4 separate regions of the Homo sapiens genome follow, and all the other regions are linked to region 2. The links are contacts of gene promoters, found by promoter capture Hi-C in blood cells and fetal thymus (Javierre and others, 2016). All regions are on one chromosome and are shown on one strand. The core of a region is centred on a gene start or on the middle of the fragment in contact, and the rest is flanking DNA. Distances in the headings are between cores, read along the strand shown.

What was found. The method cuts DNA at HindIII sites, captures the fragments that hold promoters and counts their contacts. A CHiCAGO score of 5 or more calls a contact.
Region 1: a fragment that was not itself captured here is called in contact with the fragment with the promoter of C3orf70 in region 2 in 1 of 17 cell types (endothelial precursors); the score reaches 5.1 in endothelial precursors.
Region 3: a fragment that was not itself captured here is called in contact with the fragment with the promoter of C3orf70 in region 2 in 1 of 17 cell types (endothelial precursors); the score reaches 7.5 in endothelial precursors.
Region 4: a fragment that was not itself captured here is called in contact with the fragment with the promoter of C3orf70 in region 2 in 3 of 17 cell types (endothelial precursors, megakaryocytes and erythroblasts); the score reaches 11.1 in endothelial precursors.

Annotation. Positions count from the first base shown.
Region 1 is chr3:184,822,016-184,827,300 of GRCh38, forward strand. VPS8 (VPS8 subunit of CORVET complex) reads left to right here. Exons shown (of 48, transcript NM_001009921.3): 2 at 2,530-2,770; 3 at 4,148-4,216. The coding sequence starts at 2,618. Among named protein-coding and RNA genes, the nearest start is that of VPS8, 12 kb to the left of the region's middle. The HindIII fragment of the contact is 1,788 bases long and covers 2,970-4,757 here.
Region 2 is chr3:185,149,957-185,155,236 of GRCh38, forward strand. It overlaps C3orf70 (chromosome 3 open reading frame 70), which reads right to left and starts at 3,104. Exons shown (of 2, transcript NM_001025266.3): 1 at 2,672-3,104. The coding sequence starts at 2,867. RefSeq lists a silencer at 2,510-2,729 and an enhancer at 3,150-3,289. The HindIII fragment of the contact is 2,735 bases long and covers 2,008-4,742 here.
Region 3 is chr3:184,856,349-184,862,244 of GRCh38, forward strand. VPS8 (VPS8 subunit of CORVET complex) reads left to right here. Exons shown (of 48, transcript NM_001009921.3): 15 at 3,637-3,717. Among named protein-coding and RNA genes, the nearest start is that of VPS8, 47 kb to the left of the region's middle. The HindIII fragment of the contact is 901 bases long and covers 1,405-2,305 here.
Region 4 is chr3:184,875,636-184,880,939 of GRCh38, forward strand. All of the region lies in intron 21 of VPS8 (VPS8 subunit of CORVET complex), which reads left to right. Among named protein-coding and RNA genes, the nearest start is that of VPS8, 66 kb to the left of the region's middle. The HindIII fragment of the contact is 485 bases long and covers 3,776-4,260 here.

The sequences.
Region 1 (5,285 bases), core at 2,614-5,113, 330 kb before region 2:
GCAAACAACACAAATGTCCACAATATTCCATTTTAATGATATAGAAATAGAGAGGTTCAGAAAAGGTAAACAAATTAACCAAGGTCACAGATAGGAACTCATAAAGTCCAGATTCAGACTTGATTTATTTATTTTATTTTTTGGGGGGTCAGGGGTGGGGAGAAGTGATTATTTCCTGGTCATTTCTAAGAAAAGTGGCCACAACAGCAGACCTAATAATAGACTCTTTGGCTTGTGTTCTGTCCACTTTGCCAGCACATTACATTGGTAAAAGGAGCTCAGTGAAATGAAGGTCAGAAATGGGGCAGGGTAGCTTGGTGGGATGATGTCTTCAGGGAGTGCCTGATCACCTGACACTTCTTCAGTGTGATATTGGGGTTCACAGATGCTGAATTGTTACATGGTCTTGGAACCTCTTAATAACTCCAGATATGAGATAAAAAGAGCTGGAAAAAATTGTTTTCCTTTCTGAGTTATTTTGGAAAGAGATAAAATATGAAACATTTTAGATTATTAAATCAGTTAAATATTATTTTCCTGTATGGTCTTTCCCACTATTTTTGAAAAATGTGTAAGAATAAAAGTTAATAACTATCTTTAGGAACCACTGAACGTGAATTAGATTGTGCATGTTTGTAAATAGTTGTTAAATAATTGCAACCCTTTTTGCTTAGTGGTACAAATAGGAGTTGAAAGACTTTATTAAAAAGTAATTTGTCATGAGCTAAGGTCTTTGAAGAAATGAGTATAAACATTAGTATTGCTACTGCATTTGGGTTATTGCAAAAGGAGCCCTATATTTAGAACCTGATGTTGGAAAGATACTTTAAAATGTTGCCAGGCAAAGAGTGGCCTCAGTTATGTGTTCTAGGAATGTGTTTGATAGTGTGTGTTTTATTAGGACACAACCCTATAAATAGAAAACCCATTTTCTGTAACGTGAAAGAAATTAGTCTGTATTTGGTAATATACCAAATAGTGTAATAGCTAGAAAAGTTGGTTTCAGCTCTTGAAAAGTCAGTTTCATAAGTCCATGATTTATACAAGGTAACTATTCATTTCTTTTAATATGATAAAAATGAAACATCAAAGGAAGTGAATTAATTATAGGTACTAAAATAATGAGCTTCATTAGATAAAATTGTCAGTGAATTTTTAGCATATTGTTTAAAAACAACTAATCTCAGTTCACTTTTTAAAAAATTAGTTATTTCAAGCCAGGCATGATGGCACATGCCTGTAGTCCCAGCTACTCAGGAGGCTGAGGCTGGAGGATGGCTTGAGCCCAAGAGTTGGAGGCCACGTTGACAATATAGTGAGACTCCATTTCTTAAAAGAAATTAAGTGGCTCAGTAATTACAAGTCTTTTTTTTCTGCCTTCACTAACATGCACAATCCATCTTTACTAACATACACAATCTAATTTACTAAGAGAAGCTCACTGCAGGGCAAGGGTTGGTGGTAGTGGTGTTTATACACGCTAAAGGCAGTATGTAGTTTGAAAGAGCTTTGCACTGAGAGTTTTGCCAGTTGTTTGGTACTGTGAAAAACATCTAGTTTAGGAAACAAAATGATCTTTATTATTATTATTATTAGGGCATTGTTTCTGTTTTCATATTTTTGCTTTATCCTAAACAGGTAAAGCTAATTGGACTTTTTAAAGTTGGGTCACTTGTGGCCTAATTGAAACACAAAGTAAAATCATTTAAAAGCAGACTTAATTATTAAACTTACAGTAATGTTTTCAGTATATTTTAGCTTTCTAAAAATGACAGTTTTGCAAGTAAACCAAATTATCTGTGATTTTTGATATAAGTGTGATCTATCATTTAGAGCTCTGAAATAATAAAAAGCTGTATAAGTTTCTAGTTTTCTTTAGTATTTCATTTCTCTCTGAAAATGTCCATGTTTCTCTGTGACTGGCTCTGTTTCTAGAAATCTCTGGTAGGCTATGGAGTTATTTTATCTTGGGGTCATTGTTGTTTCCTTTAATAGATCTGAACCCTTAGGTTTGCTCGTGTTGTATTAAATAGCTAGTTGTTCATCCTCAGTGTTTCTGCTAAGCTCCCAGAGACGTCTGTGGCCCTGTGCAGAGGCCAACAACAAAACTGGTTTATATGCTTATTTCCAGGGGAACTGGAGCACTACCCTGGGGTTTGGAATGTAAAGAAGGCATTAATTGCAGCTTTTGGCACCGATTTACCCTTATGCTGTTAGGTAAATAAATCTAGTTGGTACCAGGTCTAGTGGCTGAGCCTATTAAGTTATCACTATCACCAGTTTCATGACTTTGGGTGGCGGGCCACTTCCTAAAGTCCTTGAGCCCAAGTTAGCTGTTCCTCCTTTATGCTCTCATTGAAACCCTCTCCTAATAACATACCCTGTACCCCACTGTTAATTTCAGTTTGCCTGCAATCGGATGTTTAGGTGAAATCTGACCAAGTAAGTCTTTGGAATGTCCAATTGACAAGGAGGAAATCTAAATGATAGTGTTTTGTTTTGTTTTTGTTTTTTTCTTTTTTTGAAAAGAGATAATCATTCAGGTCTTCGTGAGCTAAGGCCAAACAAACAAAAAACACTTGCTTTGATGGACTGAATACTGTTATTAGAAGTAAATATGGAAAATGAACCAGACCATGAAAATGTGGAACAGAGCCTCTGTGCCAAGACGAGCGAAGAAGAGCTGAATAAGTCTTTCAATCTAGAAGCTTCACTTTCAAAATTCTCTTACATAGATATGGACAAGGAACTGGAGTTCAAAAATGATCTGGTAAAAATTTCAATTTCTGTCAAGTGATAATGTTTAACCAGTGTAGATTAGAGTATGCTTTGTGACCCAGAGACTCTAAGTCTGTCATTTTTGCATGGGTTAATAGGAGTCTGTGTATAATTTTTTTTTTTTTTTTTGGATACAGGGTCTCACTCTGTTGTCCAGGTTGGAGTACAGTGGTGCAAACATGGCTCACTGAAGCTTCAACCTCCTGGGCTCAAGTGATCCTCCTACCTCAGCCTCCCAAGTAGCTGGGACCACAGGTGTGTGTCACCACGCCCGCCTAATTTTTAATTTTTTTGTAGAGAGGGTCTCGCCATGTTGCCCAGGCTGGTCTCAAACTCCTGGACTTAAGCAGTTCTCCCTTCTTGGCCCCCACGTGTATAGTTTTATGAGATAACATTACTCTTCATTTGTATAGTCCATTACAGTTTATGAAACAATTTGATTCATGTTGTCATTTGAGCTTTACAACTCTCACAACACTCTGATAATCCATTGTATAGATGAAGACACTGGCATGCAGCTATGTAAATGACTTCTCAAAGTCACAGAGCCAGTGGTAGTTCCTTATCTTGCACAGCATTTTTTTTTCCCTTTGATTTAATATTATGTTAATGGGTTTCTATGAGTATGAGAATAACAGCATGTTGCTTGACCTAATTATCTCTCACCATAATTTATGAAATAACTAAGAAATGTGATGTCAGACTTTTGCTTATTGCTTATGACTTATGTCTAAACTTAGAAAATTAGGGGTTTTCTTAGATGTTGTTTTGTCATGTTTAAGAAAGCAGATGCAAAAGTCTTTCAACACAAGTTTTCTGGAAAGTAGGCCGGGCGTGGTGGCTCACGCCTGTGATTCCAGCACTTTATGAGGCCGAGATGGGTGGATCACTTGAGGTCAGGAGTCCAAGACCAGCCTGGCCTTATGATGAAACCCCATCTCTACTAAAAATACAAAAAAGATTAGCTGCTTGTGGTGGCACGTGCCTGTACTCCTAGCTCCTTGGGGGACTGAGGCAGAATTGCTTGAACCCGGGAGGTGGAGGTTGCAGTGAGCTGAGATCACACCATTGCACTCCAGCCTGGGCATCACAGCAAGACTCTGTCTCAAAAAAAAAAAAAAAGTGTTCTGGAAAGGGCTGTCAGGATAGTGCAGTTAGTGCATATATGTCCTTGATGGTAACTGAACGTGTAGATAGGAAAGGAAACCACTCTGTAGTCTTGACTTGATTATTACTGTGGATTTTTGAGTTGATCATTTTGGTGGTAAGTTTGTCTTTTAATTGATGGTGGTTTTAATCAACTAAAACCCCTCACAATTATAAGCAGAAAGGCATCATTTTGTGAGCACTATTTTTTTTCTTTATTTAGATTGATGACAAGGAGTTTGATATTCCTCAAGTTGATACTCCTCCAACACTGGAAAGCATACTAAATGAGGTAAGTGAATATTAATGATTACTGTCATTTTGTGTGTGGCATTCATCTTAATACTTTTTGGATTAGTTATCATACATGCACCTAGATGCGCACTTTCCAGTAGGGTAGCCACTAGTCGTGTGTGTCAGTTTAAAATTTAAATTAATTATAATCAAATAAAAATTTAATTCCTTGGCTGCACAAGGCACATTTCAAGTGCTCAATAGCCACGTGTGGCTAGTGGCTACTATATGGCTAGGGGACAGCATAGATAAAGAGTATTTCCGTCATCACAGAAAGTTCTCTTGGACAGCAGTAGTCTAGATTGTGAGCTTCTCAAGGGCATAAACCATCTCTTGTTCATCTTTAGGGTCTCTGTGCCCAGAACAATGCCTAATACTTGGCAGACTTTAAAATATATTTTATTAAGTGAATTGAGATGCAAAATTTATGTCACTTTTGAGGTTTGTATTATGTGTTGCTAATGGTTAAGTTGTCTCTACCACTGATATTCAAATAGCTTGTCCTCTGACGCTAAAGAACATCTTGCAACCTTATAATAAGCTTCATCACTCTTCTACATGAAGAAAACTAATCTTTTATAGTTTATCTTATGAATACCATTTCTAATGAAAAGTTTTTCAGAGTTTTGAAATGGTGTTATTCTTTTCTGAATTGGGAGATCAAAGGCTTTCTAAAGGGGCTCTGTGAGAGGACATGGTTGGTGAAGCACGCCTGTTTTATATACCCTGCATCTGCTGACAACCCTTCAACTCAGTCTTCATTTTTTAAAAACTTGCTTGAGACTTCCCTTGGAGGTTTTAGCTTCTAATTTGAGAAAGATCTTGCAATGTATAAATCTATTTCAAATCCGCAGTTATGTTTTCCAAAAGATAAAGACCCAAAAGTTCCCTGACAGAAAGGCCCACGTATACCAAAGCTCCGAGTGAGTTGGGCCTCTGTCTTTATTATTTCTTTGCCTATCCTGTGAGGGTTGTAGGCAGCACTTTATAGGATGCAAACTACTTTCTCTGTCAATTATGTCTTTTATTTTTCTTGTATGGCTTTTATTTCTATGTTTTACATCAGT
Region 2 (5,280 bases), core at 1,854-4,353:
AAAATGGTAACCATTTGTGGAATCAACCTGAGTTTTACCAGATTAACCTAATTTCTTGTTTTTTTTTAAAAAAAGAGTGTATGTACAGATAGGTCACAGATCAAAAAGAGGCAGTAAAAACAGTGTGTTGGTAGGATTTCAATAAGGTATTTGACCAGGTTTTCATTACACCCATATACAAGATAAATATAAGATGGATAACAGTGCAACTAGGTGGCTAGGTAATTGTTTGAACAATCATAACTAACAAGTGCTCATTAATGAATTGCTATCAACCTGAAGGGCAGTTCTACCCGCAAGCTTCAGGACTCTATCTGTGGCTTTCTCTTGTTCAACAATTTTATCAGTAACTTTTATGAACATGTACTGTACTACTGTTGGTATCCAGTATGTGGATGACATGAACCTAGGACAAACAGCTTATAAATATATTAAGAAAGAGCCAGGATCTAAAAACACACACACACAAAATTAGGCTCATTCTAATGAAATGAAATTTAATAGGAAAAGATATCTAAGGGATCAGTACCTGTGTCCAAAAATATAAGTGTGAGATGGGCAAACAGTGGCTTGTCACATATGTTAAAAAAAAACAAAACAGCTCAATGGCTTTGATGGCAAGCTTAGTTCAATCTGACAGCAGCAAGCTCAGTATGTGATGAAGATATCAGAAAAGCTAATGTGATGCTAGCTGCAGCAATAGCAGTATCTCGAACATGGGAGGTAGTGGTCTTGTTCAACTCTAGACTGATCAGACCACAACTGGAATATTGTCTACCTTTCTAGGGGCCACAGTCTTCAAAGGATCAAAACCACCTTGGCACATGTTCAGAAGAGAACAACCAAGATGCTTAGGAGCCTGAATACTATTCCATAAAAGGAAAGGCAGAAGGGACTGGAAATGTATAAATAGGACAAAGAAATGCCTTAAGAGAAAGATGATCACTAGCTTCATTCAGTCATTCAATGAACATTATTGTTAAACCTATTTCAGGAAAGACATTGTGAGAATGGCCAGGGATACAGAGAGAAGACAGTCCATATGTGCAAGACATTCATATGTATATTCAGCAATGTATATATGAAGAGTTGAAACAGCCATGATCTAAAAAAGGATTCAATTGTTCTATATGATTTCATAAGGCAGAAATAGGAGCAGAAGAAAGAAGTTAGAAAGTAACTGATTTCAGCTCCATATAAGGAAGAGTATTTTAAGAGTCAAGGCTAATGAAGGGAGAAGCTGTCTGAGAAAACTGCAAGGTTCCCATCAGTAACGGTGTACTTAGAGAAGACACTGTCAAAATAAGACAGACAGTAACCTGGACTATCTTGAACATTCCTCACATTTTACACAACGATTCTATACTTTCCCACGAAATGAATGAAAGTCCAGATTCTACTTGTGCACTTCAGCATCCCAGGTTTCCTAGAGTTGCTACTTCCAACTCGGTACCCTGTCCCACCGTGAAGCAATGCTTTATACTAACAAAAGAGAACAGATCTGAGCACAACAGGAATAATGAGAAATAGGAAGAAACTGGCCCATAAGCAAATGGAACACCAGAAATCAATACTGTTCTATGTGCCTGGAATTTGTAAAGAAAATGATCCTCTATCCTTGAATTCATAAATTCGATTTAAAATATTCATTTATGTTCGATTAATGTAAATAAGGATTTGTTATGTACTGCATTCCTGGTTGTCAGCTATTTTTTTCTCAACAAAGAAAAATTCATTTTAACTTAAGATCACTTGGAAAATGTCCTAAATAAGCACTCCAAAACCCTCTATTACAAATATATGTGGAAACTAACTTTAGAATATATTTCTTAAAATGAATGATTCATCGGATATAGTCCAAATACTATTAGCTAATCAAATTGTGAAATTCTAATTAAATGGCTACTTAAGTTTAATCTATTTAAAAATCACAGGCAGGAGGCTAAACACAGAGAAAGGGTTTAGACCATTTGGTTCTAGCTTTTATAAATTGGTTTAAGACTATTAAGCTTACTTTCACTCATTTTATTTTGTAATTTTATAAGTCTCATTTATTTGGCTCTAAATTCTACATCTGGGTATTTAAGGAGCTCGACCTTCCAAACTGTTAATATTAACTTCTTGGAAGCAATCCCTCCCACATTAGCGCTTTTTCTCAATTTGGGTACAATCAAGGGGGAAACAATTGGATATCCAAGGGCTCCTTCTTTTAAATAGCAGCCCAGGAAGACAAAAGTGAGAAAGAAAAAGAGGAGCATCTTTAACCAGCAACCTTGAAAAAAGGCATCCCCAACAGCTGTCGCCAACTCAGCTGGCTCGCTCCCATTTCTCAAAACACCGCCTGGACGCCTTGGTCAAAAAAAGAAAAAGAAAAGAAAAAAAACCAGATTCCCGCTTCCCTGGGACAGGGAGCTCCCTTTTGTAGAAGTAGCTAAAGAAAGCGAGGCGCCCCACGGGATTTCATCTCGTCGTCAAGGCAGCGCCAACCCCAGCCGTCCGGCGCAAGGAAAGCTCCGGCGGGCCCGGAGCCCACGGCGGCCCCAGCCTCCGGCAGAGCAGCCCCGGCAGAGCCCGGAGCCCCGCGGCCGCAGAGTTCCGGCAGCGACCCCGGACGGCCCGGCGGGCGTCCCCCGGACCGCGGCGGAAGGCGGGAAGACGCGGCTCGACTTACAGTGACACCATCCTAGGTGACAGCACCAGTGCAGCTTGAAGCACTTGCCATGGCTGTGCGTGGCACAGATAGACAGCCCGTCGCACGGCTGGAAGTCGGGTCTGCGGGCGGCGCAACTCCGCGCCAGGGCCTGAGCCTCATCTAGTTTCTCGCTCTTCCAACCCCGCTCCGACGCCGGCGAGGCCGCCGCACTCATTTCCTCTCCCTCCGCGCGGAGCCGACACCGGGAGCCCGGGAGAAGCGACGTCTGGGTGGGCAGGAAGCCGAGCCGGCTGCGGACGCGGGAGGGCGCGGCACGGGCCGGGAGTCACGCCAGCACGCGGCGGCGGCGGGAGCGCGGCGGTCCCAGGCTCGAGGAGGAGCCGCCCCGGGCGCTGCGACCGGGTCCGGGCTGGCAGCCTCCCTCCCTCCGGCGCGGCGCGCGCCGCGCCCCACGCGCACACGCACGCGCACAGGCGCGCGCCGGTCGGCCCCGCGCGACGTTCCTCAGCGAGCCCGGCCTTCTCACACACACGCCGCTGGGGAGCTTGGCCGTCGGCGTCCCCGCCGGTCACAGCGAGGTCCTCCTCACATACTCACTCCTTCCTCGGAGAAAGACCCCGACGGAGGGCCGTGGTGAACACACACTCCTCGGCCGCTTTGTACTCACATGCACGCCAGCCTACATATGCACTTCCCCCCGAGTGACACTGGCCACCGAGAACTGACACACGCGTCCACACGCTCCACGGAGGGCTGCGCACACCTGGCCCACGCCCACCCGAACCTCCTAGTGGCCCGGGCCGGGTGCATCGCGTAGCGAGGATCTCACACACACAGCCTGTCCCCACAGGCGTCTCACATCTCCCTCGTACACACCTCCCCGTGTCTGGGCATGGAGCCCCTGGGAGGCGCGCACACGCTCGTGCACACGCGCGCACTCCCCCCACCCAGGGCGGGCCTCCTGCCCCAGCGCGGCCACAGGGCGCGTCAGGGGCCAGCACCGCCAACCCCTGCCCGCCTCGCCCCAAACCCCAGGCCAGTGCGCCCGGGCCTTCCCGCGCCCGCCCCAACCTTCGCCGGGACCGCAGCCCCTCCCCCTTCTCCTCCCACCCCCGCCTCCGTTGAGCGGGAAAGCAACAAAGCTGGGTGCATTGATGTGTGTGTGTGTCTGCGTATGTGTAGTTTGGTGTGCATGGGATGTGTGTGTTGCGTGCGTGTGTATGATTATTTGGAGTATGTATGGTGGGTATGCGTGTGTGGTTGTGTGTGGTTAGGTGTGTTCATGGTACATGGTGGGTGGTATGCGTGATGCAAGTGACTGGTGAGGTGTGTGTATACGTGTGTATGTGAAATGAATGTTATAACTGAGGTGGAGTGTGGGTGGTGTGTGTGTGGTTGAGTGTGTGTGGCGTGCAGAATATGTATATGTGTGTAGTTGGACGTGCATGTGCTTGTGCACGTGTTGTGGGGGTGGGTATGCTTAGTAATACAGAGTGGTGTGTGTATGGTATATGTGTGGCAGTGCAGTGCGTGTATCTGGCATGTCGAGTGTGCACATGGCATATACGGATCAAATCGGGTGTGTGTGGTACATAGGAGTGGGTGGGCACACAAACAGGACTCATGTATGCGGAGGACTCTGCCTTTCTGTGTTAGCGCCTGCTCTGGCCAGCAGGTGTGACTGACCCTGTGGTGGCTGCGGCTTCCCCACACAGTTGGCTCGCACTCTTCCCTCCTGGGGACAAGTTGCTCCAAATAGATTTTCCATGCCAGGCTCTGCTGCTGAGAACCGACCCCAGGCTGGATTCACTGAAGAGGAAACAAACCATTTGCTCCCATGGTGCACTGCTGGGAATTAGTGTTTCCCTGCAACAAGGCCAGAACCCAGCCTTGAACACAGAAGAGGAGGGGACACCCCCTCCTTATTTGCCAAACGCACAGAAGAATGCTTGTTCAAGGAACAAGGCTTTCAGCACAAACACTGTGTGGGAACATGTTTATGCCCAGGTCCACTTTCTCCTTTATGCCTTTCCTGCTTTGCACTGACAAGAGACTCATCATGGTTTTGAAACAACCAAATTCATCCTCAAGCTTGAAAATCCTTGCTGCCATAAGCAATCTTTCATAATTTTCCCTTTTATGTAACCTTGGCTTGAGAAGGGAAATGTAATTTGCATATATCTGACTCTGGTGAAATCTTCATTTATTAGGGATTGGGGAGAGACTCAATTTGGCAGCAAAAGTATTTTCCAGAAAGGTCTGAATCAAAATCACAAACTCTAGTTCCCCCATTAACCTAACATTGAAACAGTTGCAAACATGAAGAATCATCTCATCAGCTTCCACCCCAACTGCTCCCCGCCTCAAAAAAATCCTAAAGGAATACATCTCTGACACAAAATCTATGCACCCCTGCTGTTAACTTCACAGTCTGACCTACCTCAGAATAACGGAAGTAAAAGGCAGAGAAATCTTAATCAAAGAAATCCATACTCCATTATTACTGCAGCAAGCCAACCAACAATTTTTCAAAGGGGACTTTCCATCTGTTCTACCCTATTTTTCTCTTTCTCCAACCTATAACTCACTCTAATACTGCCCCTATCATAGAAGGCCTTATGACGGCA
Region 3 (5,896 bases), core at 605-3,104, 290 kb before region 2:
TTAGTATGGACTAGAGAGAGTATTAATGGCTTTATGAAGGATATACTGCAACTACTGCAGGAAGGGTAGGTATGCATACTGGGGGAAGTGAGATGAACTGAAGTCACAGAGGCAAGAATGTGCCTTTGTATTAATAATCTCTTGCGTTTCCTAGCTCAGTGAAGCAAGTTCACCACTGTCCACCTAGTTTCTCCAGCCAGAAACTTACGAGTTACTTTTCAGTTACCTTTCTCTCTTCATATGTGCTCTATCACCAAGTCCTATTGACTCTACCTCCAAAAATCTCTTGAATTTCTCCTTTTTTGTCTCCCCCATTGCTGTTTCCTTAGTCTAAATCATGTACATGTCTAGCCTGGATTCTGCCATAGCTTCCTAGCTAGTCTCTGGCCTCAGTGCCTTTTACATATACTGTTGCCTCTGCCAGGAAAGTTCTGTGCTATCTTCTGTTGTCTCTGAGCTCATGATTAACATGACCTTCCCTGGCCTCTGAACTAAGTTAGTTACATGCATCTTTTGATAACATTCAGCACTTAAAAAAAAACAAAAGAGGGACGAGGTCTTGCGGGTCTCCAACCAAGGCCCAGGCTGACTCTCGAACTCCTGGCCTCAAGCGTTCCTCCCACCTCAGCCTCCCAAATATTGGGATTACAAGTGTGAGCCATTGTGCTTGGCCACATTCAGCACTTTTAAAATTACTTGTCTAATATTTTTCTTCCCCACTAGACAGAAAGCTCCATAACTCTAGAGACCATCTTTACTGTTATATTTCCAGCCACTAGGACAGTGCTTGTATATTGTAAATATTCAGTAAATGTTTATAGAATTAATGACAAAGAGAAACTTGTGGTGGAAAATATAATTGAATAGATGGGGTGGATTGATAGTAGGGGTTGGCACACTATGGCCCATGCGCCAAATCTGGCCAGCCGTCTGTTTTTATAAATAAAGTTTTATTAGAACATCCCCAATACAACATTTGAGAGTCCTATCTTTACTTTCAACTCAACACATTGAAATATTCCTTAATCATTTTCTTCCTAAACAGTATCTCTTCAAATATTTCTTGATTCTAAAATGTAAAGTCAGAAATGGGATGTTTCATTCATGTCCTTCAGTCTCTAGATCCAATATGATGAGAAGGCTTGTTTTTCCTTGAAAGTATCATCCCTTAACTCTCACTGCAACCAACCCTCTTTGTATAAACACCTTACATGTGCTTTATTATGAGAGAAAAACCTTTAATGTTTCTCCTCCCTTCTGTGTGTATTCTTTTTGCTACTTCAAGACTGATCTTCCTAAAATGTCACTTTAATCCCGTCTTTATGACTTTAATTACTTAGGAACCTGTGATGACTCCATTACCAGTCTAGGCCAATCATTATTAATCTAGATCAGGGGTTAGCAAGCTTTTTGTGTAAAGGGCCACAAAGTAAATATTTTAGTATCTGTGGACCATATATTCTCGGGAAACTGAGAAAGAGTAGGTGACTGCCCTTGGTCACACGGGTATAATAGTGGAACTTAGATATATGGCTCTAGATCCCATGTTCATTTTACCAAAAGATCTTTTCTTAAGGGAGAAGTGATTTAGTGAAGTGAAGAGGGGTCCACATGAAGGGCCCACATTAAGTGGTTTCAGATTTTTGTTAAGATATCAGGTGAGGTCACCACTGTAAGTGATGGGATCAGAAGGTAACTTAAAGGGAAAGACATCTATGATACTACTATGGGGAGTGTGCAAGAAAGCCCAGGTTGAATTGAATGCCATGAATTTCAGGTGGTCGGGTGTATCTTGTGCTTTATATTTCTTCAGTGTTCTGTTACCTTGGAGCAGAAGGGGAAGAAGCAAATTATAAGGATGACTGAGGATATAGAGTGTGTACTTATATACATATAAATAAAAGATTGACACTCAAGGTCCTTTTGGGAAATTTTGGGCTGCAAGAGTTACACAAGGGAACTTCAAAAAGTTTGTGGAAAAATGGAATTAAAAAATAAAAATAAATTTTATTTCTCAACATCAGCTTCATCTTGTTCAAGATACTTTTTAAAGTGATGATACCAGCCATATAGTCCATCCTAAAGAACTGAAGGTCTTGGGAATTTAATCATGCCAATGCAGTCTTTTTCACATTATTAACTAAAGAGAAATGGGTGCCCTTTATAGACTTTTTCTAGATTAGAAGACGAAAGTCACAAGGAGCCAAATCAGTACTGTATGGTGGATCGAATTGCTCTCAAAATTGGCCTTGTGTGATGAGAGCAATGAGCAGGAACATGGTTGTGGTGGAGGACTCTCTGGTGAAGCTTTCCTGGGCATTTGTCTGCCAAAGCTTTGGCTAACTTTCTCAAAACACACTCATAATAAGCAGATATTATTGTTCTTTGTTCCTCCAGAAAGTCAACAAGCAAAATGCCTTGAGCATCCCAAAAAACTATTGCCATGACCTTTGCTCTTGCCTGGTCTGCATTTGCTTTGACTAGACCACATCTGCCTCTTCATAGCCTTTGCTTTGCTTGTGCTTTTTCTTCAGGATCACACTGATAAAACCATGTTTTATCTCCTGTTACAGTTTTTCAAAGAAATGTTTCAGGATGTTGATTCCACATGTTTAAAATTCCCATTAAAAGCTTTGCTCTTGTCTGCAGCTGACCTGGACACAACTGTTTTGGCAGCCATCAAGTAGAAACTTTGCTCAACTTTAATTTTTCAGTCAGAATAGTGCAAACTAAACCAGTTGAAATGTCTGTGGTGTTGGCTGTTGTTTCTGCTGTTAATCGTTGATCTCTTTCAATTAGGGCATGAACAAGATGAATATTTTTCCTCACTAATTGATGGGTATGGTCTACAGCTGCAGGCTTCACCTTCAACATCATCTCCTTCCTTCTTAAAACGAGTTACCCATTTGTAAACTGCTGATTTCTCTGGGGACATTGTTCCCATAAACTTTTATTAAGCATCAGTGATTTTACATTCTTCCACCGAAGCTTCACCATAAATTTGATGTTTGTTCTTGCTTAAATTTTAGCAGAATTTATGTTGCTCTTTGGGGCTCTTTTCAAACTGATGTCTTATCCTTTTTAATGCCTCAAACTAGATCCTTTTCAGACATGTTATAACAAGTTAGTATGAGTTTATTTTGGTGCAGACAATTTTTGAGATCCATGCATAGTTTTTTCATAGTATACATTTTCCATGAACTTTTTGAGTCCTCTCATAATAATATCATAGTTCAGAAAAGTCTGGTTTACATCACTGCAGCATCTCTTTTTCTTTAATGGACTTTTGACTTCCTCACACCATGTCACCTTTCCTTTTTGTACTTTAATTATAGTCATTGATGTGATAAAGTTAGGTTGTTCTGAATTATAACAGAGTGAAAACTATGTCACAGCATTTGTCAGTACTGACAACTAGACCACCCCCAGATATGCCCTGCATTTTGGTGTAAATAATGGAACAAATAATTTTTTTTCTATTTTCATAATCATTTGTGTAATTATCAGTATTTTTGGCTTATCTACAGGGAATGGGATAATGGGTAAATGTGATACTCTAGGTGGAGTATAATTAAATATCTAAAAAAGTCCCTCAAACAGTAGCTGGTTTTTAGGTTGTTTTTATTTCATCATCAGGTAAAGAGAGATGAATCTGGAGCAATACATGTTACTAAGCAAAAGCATCTTCACCTATACTATGACCTCATCAACTTTACCGTGAGTATTATTCAAATTAAATATCCCCATTTAGTTCATGTAATTGTTCTGAATCTATGATATATTAAAGCTACCAGGATTTCTGCCAAGAATTATTACCTTTAAGATCATATGAAATATGGACAGTCCGGCACCGAGGCTCGTGCCTGTAGTCCCAGCTACTTGGGAGGCCGAGCTGGGATAGCTTAAGCCCAGGAGTTCGAGGCTGTAGTGCTCAGTGATCGCTCCTGTGACTAGTCACTGCACTCCAGCCTGGGCAACATAGTGAGACCCTGTCTCTTAAAAAAAAAAAAGTATATGTGTGTGTGTATATATATACGTATATATATGTATGTATACGTATATATGTATATATATGTATATATGTGTGTATATATATGTATATGTATGTATACACACACATACACACACACACACACACACACACACACACACAGAAAGAGGGAGTCCTGGTTATATTGAATAAACTCTGAATGTGGTGTGATGCCACAAATTATTGCCTTTCAGTCTATGTCCTGCTGAACACAGGCAGGATTAGAAATTTAATGTCTTGTTTAGCTCAAAGGGGAGTTTGGCTTCAGAAGAATTTAGGTGAATTTTTTGAGAATCATTGCCTTGCTTTCTCTGTAAAACATTTTTTGTATTTTTGAGCTTTGTCTTCATTGATTCAGCAGCTTGTGCAACCTCTTTTTTTCTTGCGGCTAAAAACTTTGCAGAGCTCTCTTTCTACCATGCATCTCAATCCTGAGTGACTTCTTGGTTTTTTTTTTTTTTGAGATGGAGTCTTGCTCTGTAGCCCAGGCTGGAGTGCAGTGGTGCGATCTCGGCTCACTGCAAGCTCCGCCTCCCAGGTTCAAGCAATTCTCCTGCCTCAGCCTCCCGAGTAGCTGGGACTACAGGTGCCCCCCCATCACGCCTGGCTAATTTTTTGTATTTTTAGTACAGACAGGATTTCACCGTGTTAGCCAGGATGGTCTCAATCTCCTGACCTCGTGATCTGCCCGCCTCAGCCTCCCAAAGTGCTGGGATTACAGGCATGAGCCACCGCACCTGGCCAACTTCTTGGTTTAAAAAGAGATTTCTTTTTGTATCAAATTTTATTTTTTCTCTCTCAAATGGTTCGTTAATTTTGAGAACAATGTAATTATAATATTTCTGGGTTCCCATCATTAATACATTTTAGCACATCAGTGTCTGGTGTCCAGTAACATTCTGTAGATGCATGAATATAGGCAACCCTAAATATAAGGCAATGCCTCATTTTTCTAATAAAAAGAATGAAAAAGTGCTTTTTCCTCAACTTGATAACTGTAATTTTTTAGGATATAGATGAAGTAAATCCTTTCTTTACATGATTTATTGATTTAGTTGTACATTACATTTTTAACTCGCAGACAGTTGTTTAGAAATAATTCTTTCTTCCATACACATTTTATGAAATAATTTTGTTCAGACTCTTAGAAGACATCAGTGTTGTCATCACCAGAACTGTCTTGTTGAATCATGTCATACAGTTTTTCAGAATTTATCATCATAATTTCTGTTTAAGATGTTTGAGATACAGTACTTTAAAAATCTGCAGAAGTGTATGTGACCATTAACTGCATTGTTTTGTAAATTACCCTTAAAAGGCTTATTTACAACAATGTCAACACTTGCAACGCTGCGGGTCTAATCTCAGGAATAATTACTAAACTTATTGAGGTTCATTTTTTTCTGCCATTCTCTTGTTTTCACCAGGTGACCTCTGAGAGTACCTAAGAACTAGCACTGATTAAGGTTGTATAAGGCTAAATAATGTGATTTTTCCCAGAAAATACTTTTTCTAAATAAAATAATTAAGAGAGCACCTTATAAGAGCTTTCTGTAAAAGATTTGCATATCAAACTCCCTGTTTTCTGAAAGATATTTTTTAGAGGAGGAGAGGGGAACAAACTCTTCCCTTAGAGTGGCTAATATACAGTAATAGAGTGTATTTTTTAGCATTTTCAACTGGTTATCTTTAATTGGACATTATGCAAATAATATCTGATGACATGGAATAGAACATACAAATACACCAGCATGAATACCAGAGACATAAAGGGCAGGGGACGCACTTCGTTCTGGCGACTTCTGAATTCTGATTGAGCAGATTTTAAGATTTATTTCTTGGGAAACGATTGGGATTGCCAAAAAA
Region 4 (5,304 bases), core at 2,768-5,267, 270 kb before region 2:
CTCTAATATCCTATGCTTTCTTGTTCACCCATTCTTTATAGAGCCAGACATCTTACAAGAGCTGTCTCTGGCCAGGGATGATGGCTCACACCTACAATCTCAGCATTTTGGGAGGCTGAGGCGGGTGGATCACTTGAGCTCAGGAGTTTGAGACAGCCTTGGCAACATAGTGAAACCTTGTCTCTACAAAAAAAAAAAAAAAAAATTAGCTGGGAATGGTGGTGCACAGCTATAGTCCCAGCTACTCTGGAGGCTGAGGTGGGAGGTTCACTTGAGCCCGGGAGGTTGAGGTTGCACTGAGCCAAGATCACGGCACTGCACTCCAACCTGGGTGACAGAGCAAGACCCTGTCTCAAAAAAAAAAAAAAGAGTTGTCTCCATTTCCTTACCTCCTTCTCATCCCTTAACCTATTCCATGTCTATAAATTCTGTGGACCCTTTTATTTCTCATCTTACTGGTCCTCAGCAGCATTCAGCACATGAAGACTTCTTGAAATAGTCTGTCCATTTTTGGCTTCCCTGATATCATGCATTCCAGTTTTTTCCCTACCTCTCTGACTGCTTATTGATTCTCTTTGTTTATTCTTCTTCCTTTTCTTTACTTAACCAAGAAATGTTAGGATTCTTCACAATACCCTTCTATTTTTATATCAATGTTTGTCAAGATGTCTGTGTACCATTTACTTCAAAATCATTTGAAGATATTTGTTAAAAATGCTTTTTTTTTTTTAATTTCCCAGGCCTACTGAATCAGACTCTCTGGGATTGGTGACCAGGATTTGTAGTCAGCTTTCAAGATGTCCCTTAAGCACATTAAAGTTTACAAATCACTGCTTTACATTCTTCCCTAGGTGATATAGGCACATGGCTATCTAACCAGTGTTAACAACCTAGATTGCTCTTCTGAATTCTGAGGTCTATAGAGTAAGTTGCCCATTTACATTTCTGCTTGGATGTTTTGTAGGTACCTCAGACTCTGTTTCCTCACAAAGCCTTTTCTGAGGATTCCTGTGTTAGTGAGTGGATCCACCATGCACCTAATGCAAATTGGGTGATTCTTGTCTTTTACTTGTTCCTGGCTATTCTGCCTCCTGACAGTTTCTCTCATCTGTTTCCACCATGCTGTTAATTCTGCCACTATCCTAGTCTAAGTGCCCATCATTTCCCTCTTGGTATATTATAGAATTCTCCAAATCGATCTCTTTGTACACATTCTTACTGTACTTCATTTCATTTTCTACACAGCAGCCAAAGAGAAATGTATATCAAATCTAGATATGATGCTTTCCTAATTTTAAAATATTTTAAGGACTTCCTATTGTTTCTGAGGTAGAGACTAAATTCCCTAACATTTTCTAAGGCTCTGCATGGTCTACGCTTGCCTAACTGCTCCTAATTCTCTGTATTGCTGTTATACTAGAGTTCTTTCCAGTGTCTTAACATCCCTGTTCTCTCTTTACCCAGAGCCTTTGTGCACAGTGTTCTCTCTGCATAAAAAATCCTTTCTCATTTCTTTGTAGCTCAACTAGCTCTGTTTATTTTCAGGTCTCAGTGTAATTGTCCCCCAGATTAACTCAGATCCATTTCTTTCTAAAATACTATGCACTGAAGTCACTCATTCAATGTCAGTTTTCTGCAGCTAGCCTATGTATGTTTAGGGACCTGTGTAAGTTTAGGAACATGTCTGTTTTTTGTCATTGCCGTATGCCCAGCATCTGGTTCAGTGTCCTTGATAAATAGTTGTTGAGAGAATTTTTAAAAATATATGAACTTATGTTGTAGAGCTTGCTTTGAAAGCATGCTTTCAATTTAAGAGGTTTGAGCTAAGAACCAAATGTAGGACTTAGTATTTGCAACACATATGTCATAATGATGGCTCATGTGGTGTGCTGTATGCCTGATGGCTATCTTATTTAGTCCTTATAACGTACTTGAGGAGTGCTTATTATTTACCTCCATTTTCCAGAGGAAATAGACACACAAAGGGGTTGAGTAACTTGCCCAATATCATTGAACCGGTGAATAGAACCACCATAGATACACACCCAGGCTGCCTGGCTCAGGAGCCTCGACCCTGTACTGTACTATGTTTCATCCCACAGTTTATTCTTTGATAATCTCAGACCAATGTGTTGTTATGTAACTCACTTTGAAACAGAGAGGACTAAGTAATTTATGAGTTTTGGGAGGATATTGAAATATATGAAAAAGAAAATACAAATGAATTTTAGCATAACCATGGTAAATATACCTGAACAATTGACTGATTTGAGTTGCTAGCAGTGTTTTCAAACTAAGAAACCACTGCTAATCAGTTAACTGTGGAAACAGTATTTTGGGTTATTTTATTTTGCTATGCTTAATATATGTGTTTTTATTTGTTTTTGAAACAACGTAGAGGTATAAATAATGAGGCATTTTAATGCTGTAATGTGAATCAAGCTTAAAGGATTTGAAAAATAATATAATTTTAAAAGACCCTTTTTTTTTTTGAGATGGAGTCTCACTCTTGTCCTCCAGATTGGAGTGCAGTGGCATGATCTCGGCTCACTGCAACCTCTGCCTCCCGGGTTCAAGCTATTTTCCTGCCTCAGCCTCCTGAGCAGCTGGGATTACAGGTGCCCGCCACCACACCCAGCTAATTTTTGTACTTTTAGTGGAGATGGGGTTTCGCCATGTTGGCCAGGCTGGTCTCAAACTTCTGACCTCATGATCCACCCGCCTCGGCCTCCTAAAGTGCCGGGATTACAGGTGTGAGCCACTGCGCCTAACCTAAAAGATCTTAATGAAGCCTTATGTTAATCGTTACTAAGCTCTCCTTCCAGCTTCATTTCACATTTCTATGAGGGTCAGATAATTCAAGGCTATTTTTGTAGCAGCTGTAGGCATATATTTTTGCATTAAGAGGTAATGTCAAAGAGTGGACAGTGACTACAAGCCAAACACAGAGCGAGGCAGTAGGAGCTTTCCTTGTCTAACCCATACCTCCTCTGAGAAGATTTGAGGAGAGGAAAAGAGTGTTGATGTCTAGCACATTGCCCTATCCCTGAGGCTTGATTAAAGTGCTGGTTCTGAGGAGTCAGGTCTTTCCTAGATTATTTTATCATCATACCTGAAAGAAGAAAAGAAAAATACATACACACATATACATGCAGAGAGATAATCTAATCTATATTGCTGTTTGGGATGTTTGTATACCAATCCTGGGGATACCAGCTGCCTAGCTCTGGTAGCCTGTGGAGATTTATCTGTGTGTGTATATCTGTGTGTAGATAGATATGTTTATCTGTTTTGGTGTATGCGTGTATACATATGTATGTATATATAATTTTGAATCATTTTCACACAGTCAAGTTTTCCTTATCTGATAGTCTTTTAGAATATAAATTAAGAGAATTAGTACCATCGCTCCAAAAAGCAAAGGAATCTGCATCTGTTATTTCTTTTCAAATCATCCCATGAAATAGGGAAAACCAGAGATTATGTCTTCACTTCACAGATGGTAAGATAGTCACAATGCAATAAAATGATTTATTCAGTCACTCAAACCATTGACAGGCTCAAATTTAGGTTATCTGTCAGCTCAGTTTTTTATTTGTATATCCACATTGCCTTCTTTAATACATCTTAAATATACATGAATATCCGACAAGAGAAGCAGTCTTTTTTGGCCCATTATAGCCCATACATTGAAGAAGAGATTAGAGAAATAGTTACTTGTTTTCTTTTTTTTAATTTTGGAGACCCCAAATTCAGTGATTTCTTGCATCCTGCAAGCTTTTGAGACTGAGTAGAATATTCTTAATATTCTTAAAGCAGGTATTGCTCACAGTGTCTATCTCGAAAGCCCTTAATCTGTCAGCATCCTGTAGAGAGGCATATGTAGACCAGGTCTGGCTGTATGAACTGAGGGCTTTGCTGCAAGAGAAGGACTTGTTCTTTCCCATTCTGCTTTCTTTCAGGGCTCTCATGAGAGGAGCCTTCCAAATGAGTTTAGAGGGATATTATCTGAGCTTGGGCACCAGCTACTCCAGGTGGTTGTTTACTAGTCCGGGAAATGCCAGCTGCCCAGCTCTGTGGAGCAAGGCAACTCTGTGAGGATTCTGTAGGAAGTTGAGTCTTTGTGTAGCCCTTGCCAGTTGGGAGATGGAGAGCTACTGATCCCACTTAGCTCATTTTCAGGCATCTAAGAGATTGCCATCAGGGATTATCCACTGGACAATATAGTTTGTCTCTCTGTAATCTGATTCTGGGAAGCAAAGCTTAAAATATGGAAATAGATTTGGCTTTAACTAATACTCTGTTTTACTTATGGTTTTAAATGTTCTAAATTGATAAAGACCTGGCTTCTTTAAGAAGCCAGATTGAAAGTGTTAATTTGGATGGTTTTGCCTTAATTGAGTTAGGAACAGTTAGTGGCAGGCATAAAAAGTATGTGTATTTGGTTTTTTTAAAATTAGTGATTTTGTGATATTTGTAAATTCATACTCAGTTGCAAGAAATAATGCAAAGTGATCCCATACCCTTAAACCAATTTTCCCCAATAAGAGAACATCTCATGAAACTATGGTACAGTCGCATAACCAGGATATTGATATTGATAAGGTAAAGATACAGAACATTTTCATCACCACATGGATCCCTCATTTTACCCTTTTATAGCCACACCCACTTCTCTTCTGCTCCCACCCCCTCCTTAACCTCTGATACCCAGTAGTCTGTTCCTCATCTCTATAAATTATAATTTCAATAATGCTATATAAATGGAATCATAGAGTGTGTAACCTTTTGGGACTGACTCTTTAAACTCAGCATAATAATTCCTTAGTGATTCACCCAGGTTGTTGCACATATCAGTAGTTGGTTGCATTTTATTGCTGGGTAGTATTCCATAGTATGGATGAGCCACAGTTTGATTAACAATTTTACCGGTTGAAGAATATCTGGGTTGTTTCCAGTTTGGGGCTGTTAAAAATAAAGTGGCTCTAAACATTTCTGTATATGTTGCTGTGTGAACATGTCTTCTTTTCTCTAGGAGAAATGTCCAGGTTTACAATTGTTGGATCATATGATAGTTGAATGTTTAATTTTAAAAGAAACTGCCAAATAGTTTTCCAGAATGCCAGTACCATTTCGCATTCCCCTAGCAGTGTGTAAGTGATCCAGTTTCTAGTCTACATCCAGCATTTGATGAAGTCACTGTTTTATTTTAGCTATTCTGGTAGGTGCATAATGGTATCTCATTGTGGCTTTAATTTGCATTTCCCTAATGACTAATGATGTTAAACATCTTTTCATGTGTTT